3 separate regions of the Homo sapiens genome follow, and all the other regions are linked to region 1. Evidence: promoter capture Hi-C in human tissues and cell types (Jung and others, 2019). All regions are on one chromosome and are shown on one strand. Each heading gives the region's core, a stretch centred on a gene start or on the middle of the fragment in contact. The rest is flanking DNA. Distances are from core to core; before and after follow the strand shown. Region 1 holds the start of ANKRD11 (ankyrin repeat domain containing 11). Region 2 holds the start of RNF166 (ring finger protein 166). Region 3 overlaps GALNS (galactosamine (N-acetyl)-6-sulfatase).

Region 1 (4,063 bases), core at 406-2,905:
ACTAGTTGTGGGTGGAGCCCGAAATCTGGCTGCCTAGAGAAGGCTGAAGGTCCAGTTATAGCATAACTAATGTTTCCCCAGAGCTCACATACGTGCCAAGCACCGTGCTACAGCCTCCACAGCCCCTTCATTTAATCTTCCCGATGGGCCTATGAAATAGGTGCTCCTGGCCCGCACCGTGGCTCATGCCTCTAATCCCAGCACTTTGGGAAGCTGAGGAGGGAGGGTCGCTTGAGTCCAGGATTTCAAGACCAGCCTGGGAAACACACAGAGAGCCTATCTCTACGAAAATTTAAAAAATTAGCCGGGTGTGGTGATGCCTGACTGTGGTCCCACCTACTTAGTAGGCTAAGGTGGGAGGATCCTCTGAGCCCGGGAAGCTGAGGCTGCAGTTAGCACTGCACTCCAGCATGGGCGACAGAGTGAGACCCTGACTCAAAAAAAAAAAAAAAAAAGAATAGGTGCTACTTGTAGTTCCCATTTTACCCACCAAGAAACTGAAGATCTGAGAGACAAAGCCTACAGGGTGACCGCTAGTCACTGGTAGGGCTGGGATTTGAACAGGGGCGGTTTAACAACTGATCTCTCGACCATAATGCGTGTTGCCCAAGAAAAAAGACCGTCCTCACGGTCCTATCCACTCCGGACTTTGCAATTCCGTTATTTCGTAAATTGAGGCCTATAAATAGTTTGCTTACCCGTTGTCTTAGTCCCCAGTAACATGCAGAACTAAAGAAGAAACTGAAGGAGCACCGATTTTGTTCACCTTGCTTTTTGGTTTAGTTCTGGAGGAGAACACAGGTGCACTTAGAACAGGATCCACACTTACCAGAGGCTTGATTCATTTTAGCTGCAAAGAAAACCAGTCCTCGTCTACCTTTTTCGCGTGTTGGAGAACTAACTAGCAAGGCAGGGAATGCGGTTCGTGGGCGCTTGGCCTCCTCAAGCGGCTCAGGCTCTCAGAGCGCGAGGCCCAGGGGCTCTGGAGCCGCGGCCGCGACGCGCCCGAGGGCCGTTCTCTTCGACGGCAGAGCAAGAGTCACCGCGCGGGAGCCCCGAGCGACCGCCCCGCTGCCCCGGTACCCTCCCCTCGCAGCCGCCCAGAGCTCTTCATGCCCCGTGACGCCCGTTAGGGCAGCGCGGCCGGAGGCCGGGCCGGACGTGGCCCGAGATGTCCGGGGGCAGGCAGAAGACCACGGGCACGCGACAGGCAACCGCCGCCTCGGCTCTAGAGGTGGACGTTTTGTCTCCCTGCGCTTCAATACCAGATTTTGTTTCCAGACGACATCCCTGTTGCTTCCGGCACTTGGAAAGACCAATCGTCAGGCCCGAGAATGCAAGACCCACCCTCCTTTGCGACGGAGGCAGCCAATCCAGTTGCTCGCTACTTCCAGTGTCGCATGCGCCCTTACGCAGGACCCTGCCCAATCGTTACCGGGACGTCCTCCTAGTCCCGCCTCCGGACCGCCAGAGAGGCTGTCAATCCCGCCTCTCTCCTTCACTCCATTAGCGCACTAACTCACGGCGCTGTGACGTGCACAGCCCCTGCGGCCGGCCGGGGCGGGCCAATGGCGGTGGCGGATACGGCGGGCCAATGGGCGGGAGCGTCTCATGCGGCCGGCTCCCGCCGCAGCCGCCGCTGGGTCCTGGAGCCAGAGGCCGCCCTGAGACGGTGCGCGATGGACCGAGGGCCCCAGCCGGGGAGGCGCCGCCGCCGAGCCCGCGGCCAGACGCCCCATCAGTAGCGTCCGCACCGGGAGCCGCGGCTCTCGCCCGAGCCGTGGGCGCGCCCGAGGGGCGGGCTCGCCTCCCGCCGTCCCTCGCAGCTCTGCCGGGCCCGAGCCCGCGCCGCCGCCGCCGCCGCCTTGCCGCTCGGGCCGCGCGGCCCGGGAAACGCGGCCGCGGGCTGCATGGGCAGCGCCCGCGCCCCGCCGCTGAGCCGTCGCGGAGCCGCGCAGCCCTCGGAGCACGGTGAGAGGCGCCGCTGGTCTGGGGGCGGTGGTCGGGGCGGGCACGGGGCATTCGCGCGGCCTTGCGGCCTGCAGGCCTTCCCCGGCGACGGAGCTGCGCCGCGGGCCTCCGGGCGGGCCTGGGGGGTCGGGGCCGGGTGGGCGGGGGTCTTTGGGGGCCCGGGGCGATCGTGAGGGACCAATAATGGGTCCCGGAGCGGGCCTACGGGTCCGGGTTCGGGGCAGCCGGGGGTCTTTGGGGGCCCGGGGTGGCCGTGAGGGGCCCATAGGGGGCTCCGGGGGGGGCCTGGGAGGTCGGCGGAGCTTGGGTCGGCCGTAAGGGGCGGACGGGGGCTCCGGGCGGGCCTGGGTGGCCGGGGGCCCGCGGCGGCTCTGAGGGGCCGATTGGGGGCTCCGGGGCGGGCCTGGGGGCCGTGGGGGCCCGGGGCGGCCGTGAGAGGCGGACAGGGGGCTCCGGGGCGGGCCTCGGGGGCTCGGAGCGGCCGTGAGGGGCGGACGGGGGGCTTCGGGGCGGGCCTGCAGGTCTTGGGGACCTGAGGCTGCCGGGAGGGGCTGCCAGGGGGCGCTGGCCGGGCGCCGGGTTCTGCGGAGCTGGGGCGCCGACCTCTGACCCGCGAGAGGGGCGCCTTCGCCGTGCTGGTCGTAGTTGTTATTCTCAGCGTCCCTATTATTATCGCTGTTTTGAAATGAGAGCAGGCGGCTCTCGGGCTCCGAGCCGGAGGGGGAGGGCGAACTGGGGACCTGGGGGCGTCGGGGTTGCAGGAGGCGCGCGTAGGCCGAGGAGGGGCAGGAATGCGGGCAGCCGTGTGGGGGGTGTTAGGGGGAGGGTAGGCGGGCGGGTGTGGGGGGTGGCTGGGAGGAAAGCGGTGGCGGTGGCGGCTGCAACAGCAGCCCTTGGCCTCAAGGAACAATGTGAGACGTTGCCTGAAATGTTAATTTCCGTTCCTCATTTCATCATCCCCTGGCAGGGCGGTAGCTGTGTGTGTGGTGTATGTGTGTGCGCGCGCGCGCGCGCGCGCGTGTGTGTGTGTGTGTAGGGTTGGCCCTGCCACATTGATTCAGTCCCCTCTCAAAGAGGGATTGTACTGTTAACTCTTGTGTTTGTGTTATTTGGGAAGGTTGGTCGGGGGGAGTCTTGATTTTTCTCGAGGCTTGCTCTTTTCCTGGTGCCCCATTAAGATTTTCTGCTTCTGTTGTGTTTTTGGAAGGTTAGTGTTATATATCAGCTTCCAAGAAGTTTTGGAAGAGGCTTGGGAAGATGAAGCTGGTCTAACAGCTCCCTATGCTTTGAAACTGTTTTCCTTCTATGTAACATGCTTAGGATTCATCGTTTTTGTAGATTATGAGTAGTTTTGTATCCTTTTGCAAGAACAGGGTTTTATGGTAGAGAAATTAGATTTCAGGCTTTCTTACATGAGGAGAGAGTTTTATGCAGTCATTAGAGCAATATCCTTAACACTTGAAATGAGAAATAAAAGTGTGCACAGTTGTTGAACTGCAAAACTTAGAGAATCTTTTGATCCTTTTTGGGATGTTGAGACTTAGCCAAACATATAAGATGATATTACCTGTGGAAAAAGTGCCATCGAAACAGTTACTGTTTTTGTTGTGTGCAGACCTAGTCTATGGCATAACGTTCAAAATCGGAGACCCTGAGGCTGTTTCTTTGGTTTCTCTGAGACCTTGATTTCTCTTAGTAAGTATTGGCTGCCCTGGAAGACTTCGAGTTCTGTTAGAGAATGATTACAGAAGTCCTCTGATTTTACTCTGCAACTGTAGTTAAACTAGAAAAAAAGGGGGGGGGGCGGATGTCTTGCTCAGCCTTCATTGTGACCCTTGCATTGGATCTCGTATAGTTGGTGTGGCCTCCCCTACCCTCCATTCAGCTGTTGTTCTCCTCTTTCTGTAGTTTCTCCCCGAAGAGCAGGATCTCCTTCGATAGGCTGGCCATCTGAATGGAACTGGATGGGAGGGAACAAAGACCAAGTTGCTGTGACGTTTTCTCTGTTCTTCGTGATGCCTCTTAAGTTTGTTGAAAAGTTCCCCACAAGATAGTGCTAAATTTGACCTAAACTTGAAACTTTCAGCAGTTT
Region 2 (4,063 bases), core at 398-2,897, 780 kb after region 1:
ATCACTTGAGGTCAGGAGTTCGAAACCAGCCTGGCCAACATGGTGAAACCCTGTCTCTACTAAAAATACAAAAACAATTGGCCGGGCATGATGGCAGGCACCTGTAATCCCAGCTACTCAGGAGGCTGAGGCAGGAGAATCACTTGAACCCAGGAGGTAAAGGTTGCAGTGAGCTGGGATCATGCACTCCAGCTGTTGCACTCCAGCCTGGGTGACAGAGGGAGACTCCATCTCAAAAAAAACAACAACAACAACAAAAAAACCACGCACCACCACTGGGAATTAAGAGGGCTAAAAGGAGAGAGACCTGGTCCTCCCTTCAGGGAGCTATGAGTCTAGTGGAAACAACTGAACAATACAATGGCTACAAGCCAAGAAAGACATGACAAGCGCCTGGGGGAAAGCTAGAGGTCTTCCAAGCCTCTATCCTGCCACAGATGAAACAAGCATCTCACACGAGATTAAAAACTTTCACCCAGACCATCTGCCAAGTTCCCAAGATGCTCTGATCCGCCCCTAGATGTATTCCAGCTGCCCCCAAACGCCTGGTCCTCCTACAGCTTATCCCAGTCTAGACACCACGGCCCCACTTCCAACTGTCCCCATAAGTTCCATCAGAAACCTCATCAGGGGATCTGTGGCTAGCTCATGGGAAACTTTCCCAAGCAGGAAACCAATGCTTTCGCCTCCACTTCAACACCAGGGGCACGAGGGACCCCATCAGGAGCAGGAATAAAGTAAGTACATGTTTTTAAAAAGAATTAACAAAGCATCACAAGTTGCGGCTATCCTGTCTGCTAGCGAGGCCATGTTTGCCAGGGTCTCAGCCACCTCCAGGCCTCACCTGCAGAAGGCATCTCCGGCTCGTATCACCACAACGGGCTGCGCTTCCTTGCACTTCACACACTTCTGCTCACGGCTTTGGAGATGGGAGGGGGGAGAAGAGAGAAACACAGATCACATCTTCCCCACGCCTAGTGGGCTTTGGGGAGACAGCTCCTGTTTCTCACCCTGAGTTGGGTCAGAGAAAGGCACCTCGGTACACACACAAACCCAGGCTTGTGTTCTGTCCAAACTTCAAGAAAAACAAAGGCTCTGGGGGGATGTTTAGCCTAGAAAAGCCGGCTCAGGGGGCACATAAAGGCCGCTTTTCAGTCTCCCAAGGCTGACACGGGGAGGCGAGACAGCTTCACGGCACCAGTTCTCTCCGAATAAGGACAGCACTGTCAGCGGCAGAGCCGTCCCCAGTGGCTGCTAGGATGAGAGGCGCGAGCCAGTGGAGTAAGTCCCCTTCTAGGTGGCCGTCACCGCTTGACAGGCATTCCCCGAGTGCTAGGGAGCGAGGTCCCGCTCTCCACGCGGGGCTTCCCGGAGCAAGCCCGGCCGGGACCCTTCGGGGCAGGAGTGCGGCGGGAAGGCGAGGGGCGGCCTGGCGGGTCCGGCCGCCAGCTCTTACCTGGGCCGCGGCGCCGGGGGCGGCTCCTCAGGCGCCGGCTCCCCGTAGTCCTCGCCCACCTGACACATGGGCACGCCGGGTCCCGTCGCAGACTGTGGCGGCGACAGCGCGAGGGCGCGCCCCGATGACGTCGGAGTGGCGCCGTGACGGCCGCGAAGCCCGGCTGGGGGCGGCGCCCTACGATGACGTCAGCGCGGCGCAGTAGCGGCTGTGACTAGCGGGCCGGCCCGGGCCAGGACAGCGGGCGGCGGGCGGCGCGGGCCTGGCCCCGGGATGGCTATGTTCCGCAGCCTGGTGGCCTCGGCTCAGCAGCGGCAGCCGCCGGCCGGGCCGGCGGGCGGCGACAGCGGCCTGGAGGCGCAGTACACCTGCCCCATCTGCCTGGAGGTCTATCACCGGCCCGTGGCCATCGGCAGCTGCGGCCACACGTGAGCGCGCCCGCCCAGGGGCCGCGGGGAGGGGGCCGTGCCCCGCCGCGGGAGGGGTCGCGAGGCCGGCGGCCGCCCCGGTGCAGCTCCGGACTGGGCGCGCGGGGACTCGGGGCGCCGGGGCCTCGGGGCGCGTGGGGTCCGGGTTTCCCTGTGCCGCGCCGCCTCTGCCCTCTGGGCGCGTTCATCCCCCGCCCAGCCTCCTTCGCGCCAGCCGCAGGCGCCCGGTCCGACTGCTGCTTCGGTTCACCGGGCGACCTGCGGCCCTGCCCAAGCTCGGGGTCCCCGGCGGCTGCGGCGGGCGCTCCGGTACTCAGAGGGCAGCAGGTGCCACCGCTCCGCCAGTGGTGGTGGATTTGGGCTTGTGCGGCTGGAATGGGCAGTTGTAAATAAATAACTTGTAGTTTTTGCTATCAACTCTTGTTCGGACCCGCTGTCTGCCTGTTTTGACTACAGAGGAAAGGAGTTCCCTAAAGTTTAGAGGGGCTTGTTTGGAGTCTGATGTTCTTAGTTTTGTTTGAAGGAGAACTTGAGTCACACCGATCACTGAGTAGCCAGGCAGGCTGGTCCACAGAGGAGCAGACACTGACCACCTTGCTGGGGTTTCCAGCTGCACCAGGGCTCACAGCCGGCTCCTCCAGGGTGTTTCAGGAACAGAAACTGGAGGACGTGGCTCTCCTGGCGGGGAGCTGTGCTCAAGTATTCTGGAGCTGCCAGCCCCGTTGGGAGGAAGCCTAGATCAGTGTCTGCTCCCTCCTAAGTGCTGAATAATACAGCTCTTGAGCAAAATCAGCAGTGGCAGGGGAGAGAGAGAGCAGGAGGGCTTCCCCGCAGACATCCAAGCTGCTGAGGTGGTGGAGTGGAGGGGGGTGCACCCAGACTGGTAGGAGGCTCTAGAACATTTTGCAAGCAAAGTCAGCTGACTTCAGGGGCTCCTGGTACAGAGGGAGCTGGGACTGCTAGGTGGATGTGTGCTGGTCACCCACGGAGGTGGCAGGGCCAGTGTCAGGATGCAGAGCTGCCTTCATTACCTGTGTCAGGCAGCACAGGCGCCTGCCCACGCTGGGACAGCTCTACCTACTTCTCTTGTGAGGCTGCTACAGGCTCTGCCCCTGCTCCTCCATCTCACTTAGCCGTGACATTTTGGGGGGGCAGCCTCTGAACGGGAATATTTTTTTTTGAGACAGAGTCTTGCTCTTGTCACCCAGCCTGGAGTGCAGTGGCGCCATCTCGGCTCACCGCAACCTCCATCTCCTGGGTTCAAGTGATCCTCCTGCCTCAGCCTCCAGAGTAGCTGGGATTACAGGCACCCGCCACCACGCCCGGCTAATTGCTGTATTTTTAGTAGACAAGGGGTTTCACCATGTTGGCCAGGCTGGTCTCGAACTCCTGACCTCCGGTGACCTGCCCGTCTCAGCCTCCCAAAGTGCTGGGATGACAGGCGTGAGCCACCGCGCCTGGCAGGACTTCCTTCTTGTGAGCAGGTAGCGGGTGTTTGAAGGTGTGTTCCGCACCTTCTCATCTGTTACTGAGCGCTGTGAGGCTTGACTTAGGCCTTGTTTTAGAAAAGCCTCCCGTAGGCTTTGGGTGCCAACACCTTCACCGTGTGGTCGGCCACAGCATCTCCACTTTCCTAACCTGCACAAATTGGTCTTTGCCCTTCTTTTTCAAATATGTCTTTTCCTAAAATGTAGTTTCCATAACACAGAATGCAGAACCACATGGAATTGTGGAGCATCTTTCCTATAAAACTCCCCTCTGCCATGCTTTTCTTGGTAGAATGACGACCATCCTAGTCTCACCGCGGGTCCTGCAAGAGCTTTTCACACAGCCTTTGCCTTTCAAAGATTTTTCTCCCCGACTTTTCCTGCTGGCTTTTGTTTTCTGGCTGTTCTCTCTCTGCTTCTAACTTTGTTTCTTGTTGGTGTTGCTAAGGCATGCATGCAAATGACCACAGAAAGTTTAAAGGCTCTTCAGGTTCCCTTCGGAAGTTTGTTGCTGGTCTGGTTCTGTCCCCTCCGCAAGCTCCCCAACCAGAGCAACTTCCTCCTCCAGGGTAGATCTCTCATGGCAAGAGTATCCCAGTGTGGGGGCATGCACCCTGCTCTAGCCCTCGCGCAGGAGGCCCCCTGGGGGCCCAGCAGGAGCTGTTCTCAGCCAGGGGACAGTCTGAGCAGTG
Region 3 (4,063 bases), core at 906-3,405, 640 kb after region 1:
TGAAGGATACTGATCCATGGCTCACAGCTGTGCTCGCTGAACGTGGACAATCATTTGGGGGCTTTTAGGCCTTTTTTTTTTTTTTTTTTTTTTTTGAGATGGAGTCTCACTCTGGTCACCCAGGCTGGATTGCAGTGGTGTGATCTCAGCTCACTGCAACCTCCGTCTCCCAGGTTCAAGCAATTCTCCTGCCTCAGCCTCCCGAGTAGCTGGGACTACAGGCTCCCACCACCGTGCCCAGCTAATTTTTGTATTTCTAGTGGAGACGGGGTTTCACCATATTGGCCAGTCTGGCCTGAAACTCCTGACCTCAGGTGATCTGCCTGCCTCAGCCTCCCAAAGTGCTGGGATTACAGGCATGAGCCACCACACCCAGCCAGGACTTTTTTTTTGAGACAAGGTCTGGCTCTGTCACCCAGGCTGGAGTGCAGTAGCTCGATCACAGCTCACTGCAGCCTCAAACTACTGGGCTCAAGCAATTTTCCTGCCTCAGCCTCCTGAGTAGCTGGGATTATAGCCGCCCATCACCACACTCGGCTAATTAATTTGATCTTCAATCACTGATACCCTTTCTTCCACTAGATCGAATCGGCTACTGAAGCTTGTGCATGCGTCACGTAGTTCTGGTGCCATGGTTTTCAGCTCCATCAGGTCATCTAAGGTCTTCTCTACACTGTTGATTCTAGTTAGCCATTCGTCTCATCTTTTTTCAAGGTTTTTAGCTTCCTTACCATGGATTCAAACATCTTCCTCTAGTTCGGAGAAGTTGGTTATTACCGACTTTCTGAAGCCTACTTCTGTCAGCTCGTCAGAGTCATTCTCTGTCCAGCTTTGTTCCCTTGCTGGCGAGGAGCTGCGATCCTTTGGAGGAGAAGAGGTGCTCTGGTTTTTAGAATTTTCAGCTTTTCTGCTCTGGTTTCTCCCCATCTTTGTGGTTTTATCTGCCTTTGGTCTTTGATGCTGGTGGCCTAAAGATGGGGTTTTGGCGTAGATGTCCTTTTTGTTGATGTTGATGCTATTCCTTTCTGTTTGTTAATTTTCCTTATAAGAGTCAGGTCCCTCAGCTGCAGGTCTGTTGGAGTTTGCTGAAGGTCCACTCCAGACCCTGTTTGCCTGGGTATCACCAGTGGAGGCTGCAGAACAGCAACTATTGCAGAATAGTAAATATTGCTGCCTGATCCTTCTTCTGGAAGCTTTGTCCCAGAGGGGCACCTGCCTGTATGAGGTGTCAGTGGGCCCCTACTGGGAAGTATCTCCCAGTTAGGCTACACGGGGGTCAGGGACCCACTTGAGGAGGCAATGTGTCCGTTCTCAGAGCTCAAACACTGTGCCGGGAGAACCACTGCTCTCTTCAGAGCTGTCAGACGGGGACGTTTAAGTCTGCCGAAGTTTCTGCTGCCTTTTGTTCAGCTATTCCCTGCTCCTAGAGGTGGGGTCTACAGAGGCAGCAGGCTTTGCAGAGCTGCGGTGGGCTCTGCCCGGTTCGAGCTTCCCTGCCGCTTTGTTTACCTACTCAAGCCTCAGCAATGGCGGACGCCCCTCCCCAGGCAGGCTGCCACCTCGCAGGTGGATCTCAGACTGCTGTGCTAGCAGTGAGCAAGGCTCCGTGGGCATGAGACCCTCCGAGCCAGGCCCGGGATATAATCTCCTGGTGTGTCGTTAGCTAAGACCGTTGGAAAAGCGCACTATTTGGGCGGGAGTGTCCTGATTTTCCAGGTGCAGTCTGTCACGGCTTCCCTTGGCTAGGAAAGGGAAATCCCCCAACCCCTCGCACTTCCTGAGTGAGGCGATGCCCCACCCTGCTTCGGCTCACCCTCCATGGGCTGCACTCACTGTCCAACCAGTCCCAGTAGGATGAACCAGGCACCTCAGTTGGAAATGCAGAAATCGCCGTCTTCTGCGTCAATCACGCTGGGAGCTGCAGCCCGGAGCTGTTCCTATTCAGCCATGTTGGAACGGAATCCCCACACCCGGCTAATTAAAAAAAAAGTTTTTTTTAGTGACAGTGTCTGTCTGTGAGACCCAGGTTGGTCTTGACTTCCTGAGCTCAAGCGATCCTCCCTCCTCAGCCTCCCAAAGTGTTGGGATAACAGACGTGAACCACTGGATCCAGCCCTTTTAGGACTTTTAAGGGAGAGAAGAAAGGTGGTTCCTGCCCGTGGTGCCCTGTGGGGGTTTTAGATGTTCAATGGTAACCTGCTCACTCTGCAGGGAGGCTGTCCACACCTGCTTTTCATAGCCAAGAAAGGCGCCGATAAATAATGAAAGAACAGGGTCAGCAGATGAGAGCTGGCCCAGCAGCCTGGGACGCTGTCCTCAGAAGGCCCACGTGTGGGACGTTGCCCTCGGCTGGTCAGAAGGCACATGTGTGGGAGGTTTTTGCCCTCGGCTGGCGTCTGGGAACAGGAGGTCCCCCCGCTGTTCGCTGATAGGAGCAGCTCACCTTGCCACACTGTTTTTGCACATGCCACGATTTATGCCCAGCATCCTCCTTCTGGGCATAAAGAGTCTCGGCACATGCCAGGCAGAGGCGGCCGCACTGCCAGCCTAGGCAAAAGCCCTGGGAACTGAGTCTCGCACAGCTTCCCCGTCAGCATCCCGCACCTGTGCTCGCAGCCCGAGCGTCCCGTGTGGCTCCGCCTGGGGAGGGTTCCACGCTGCGGCTGGTCTCCCCGGCCCCGCCCGCACCTTCTCCCCTGGCTGATGCCCTCCCCGTTGTAAGTCATGGCAGTGAGTAGGACTGTCGCCAAGACCTGGGACTCCTCCCAGCGAGAGTGCTCCCTTGCGGTATCTTCTGAGTCAGTGGTGAGCGTGGAGCCCCCTCCCTCAAGCCCTGGGACTCCTCCCCGCAGTATTTTCTGGTGAGTGATGAGCGTGGAGCCCACTCCCTTTACAGCATTTTCCGCTGCATCCATTCATGTTATTTGTGGCCTGGAACAGGTAGGAGGATGACCCAGGTGAGCACAAGCAGATCCGGACGCAGCTCTGCTGACTGCCGACCTTCTGGGGAGGCCAGACCCGCCTCGGGAAGCCTCAGGACGCAGCCTGCAGGGAGGGTCGGGCACATGGCACCCAGTATTCAGATGTGCGGCCTCACTCCCAGCCCGAAGGGAGCCCAGCAGTGGTCCTGGGCATGGGCAGACAGTGTAACGGGCGAAACATACTGCTCCCTCCCATCCCAGGCCTTGTGCCCCCGGCCCACCTGCCATTCTGTACTCTCCCACCTGGACTGGAGACAGCAGGAAGTGCAGAAGCCACCTGAGAGGATGAATCTGCACTCGGGGAGGTGGAGGGCAAGGAGCTTTGGGCGTGTGTGGCCAGTCCCCCTCAGGCTGGCCTCAGGGAGCTGTACCGTCCCAGCCTGCACTGCAGGTTTCTGCTGCCTCAGTGGGATGCACCTCACCCTGACATGGGCGCATTCGCCCACTGTGACTAGGTGCCACTGAGCCCAAGGTCCCTTCTCAGCCCATGAGCAGCTCTGCGGGCGTCCTGCCCCCTGTCCTCCCACCTCCCTTTCTTCCTCATCAGCTTCAGGGGACACCTCTCTCTAGGTCCTCCTTTCATTCCAGCCTCCATTGTCCTCAGAAAAGCCATTTCAGTGACTTCAAAATAAACCATCTCAGGGCTGGGCGTGGTGGCTCACACCTGGGATCTCAGCACTTTGGGAGGTGGAGGCGGGTGGACTGCTTGAGCTCAGTTCACTCAAGACCAGCCTGGGCAACGTGGCAAAACTCCATCTCTACCAAAAATACAAAAAAGTTGGCCTGACACGGTGGTTCACACCTGTAATCCCAGCACTTTGGGAGGCTGAGGCAGGTGGATCACCTGAGGTCAGTATTCAAGACCAGCCTGGCCAACATGGTGAAACCCCATCTCTATAAAAAAAATACAAAAATTAGATGAGCTTGGTGGTGGGTGCCTATAATTCCAGCTACTCAGGAGGCTGAGGCAGGCGAATTGCTTGAACCCAAGAGCCGGAGGTTGCAGTGAGCCAAGACCACGCCACTGCACTCCAACCTGGGTGACAGAGTGAGACTCCATCTCAAAAAATAATGATAATAAT

The links. Contacts are between HindIII fragments. The study calls those that stand out against the background at their distance.
Region 2: the fragment with the promoter of RNF166 here is called in contact with the fragment with the promoter of ANKRD11 in region 1 in 1 of the 25 tissues and cell types used here (lymphoblastoid cells).
Region 3: a contact is called between a fragment that was not itself captured here and the fragment with the promoter of ANKRD11 in region 1, in 1 of the 25 tissues and cell types used here (dorsolateral prefrontal cortex).

Annotation. Positions count from the first base shown.
Region 1 is chr16:89,488,153-89,492,215 of GRCh38, reverse strand. It overlaps ANKRD11 (ankyrin repeat domain containing 11), which reads left to right and starts at 1,655. Exons shown (of 13, transcript NM_013275.6): 1 at 1,655-1,971. It overlaps LOC101930112 (a long non-coding RNA gene), which reads right to left and starts at 1,246. Exons shown (of 2, transcript XR_933895.4): 1 at 830-1,246. RefSeq lists silencers at 936-985, 1,106-1,195, 1,396-1,875, 2,450-2,499, 2,580-2,689 and 1 more and enhancers at 2,081-2,595, 2,596-3,109, 3,699-3,768, 3,919-4,063, 3,967-4,063. The HindIII fragment of the contact is 15,043 bases long and covers 1-4,063 here.
Region 2 is chr16:88,703,992-88,708,054 of GRCh38, reverse strand. RNF166 (ring finger protein 166) reads left to right here and starts at 1,647. Exons shown (of 6, transcript NM_178841.4): 1 at 1,647-1,884. The coding sequence starts at 1,730. It overlaps CTU2 (cytosolic thiouridylase subunit 2), which reads right to left and starts at 1,552. Exons shown (of 15, transcript NM_001012759.3): 1 at 1,457-1,552; 2 at 845-919. The coding sequence starts at 1,524. RefSeq lists silencers at 1,284-1,593, 1,634-1,913 and an enhancer at 1,535-2,172. The HindIII fragment of the contact is 44,302 bases long and covers 1-4,063 here.
Region 3 is chr16:88,849,284-88,853,346 of GRCh38, reverse strand. The region is part of intron 1 of GALNS (galactosamine (N-acetyl)-6-sulfatase); the gene reads left to right. Among named protein-coding and RNA genes, the nearest start is that of GALNS, 5.6 kb to the left of the region's middle. RefSeq lists an enhancer at 3,004-3,173. The HindIII fragment of the contact is 6,360 bases long and covers 1-4,063 here.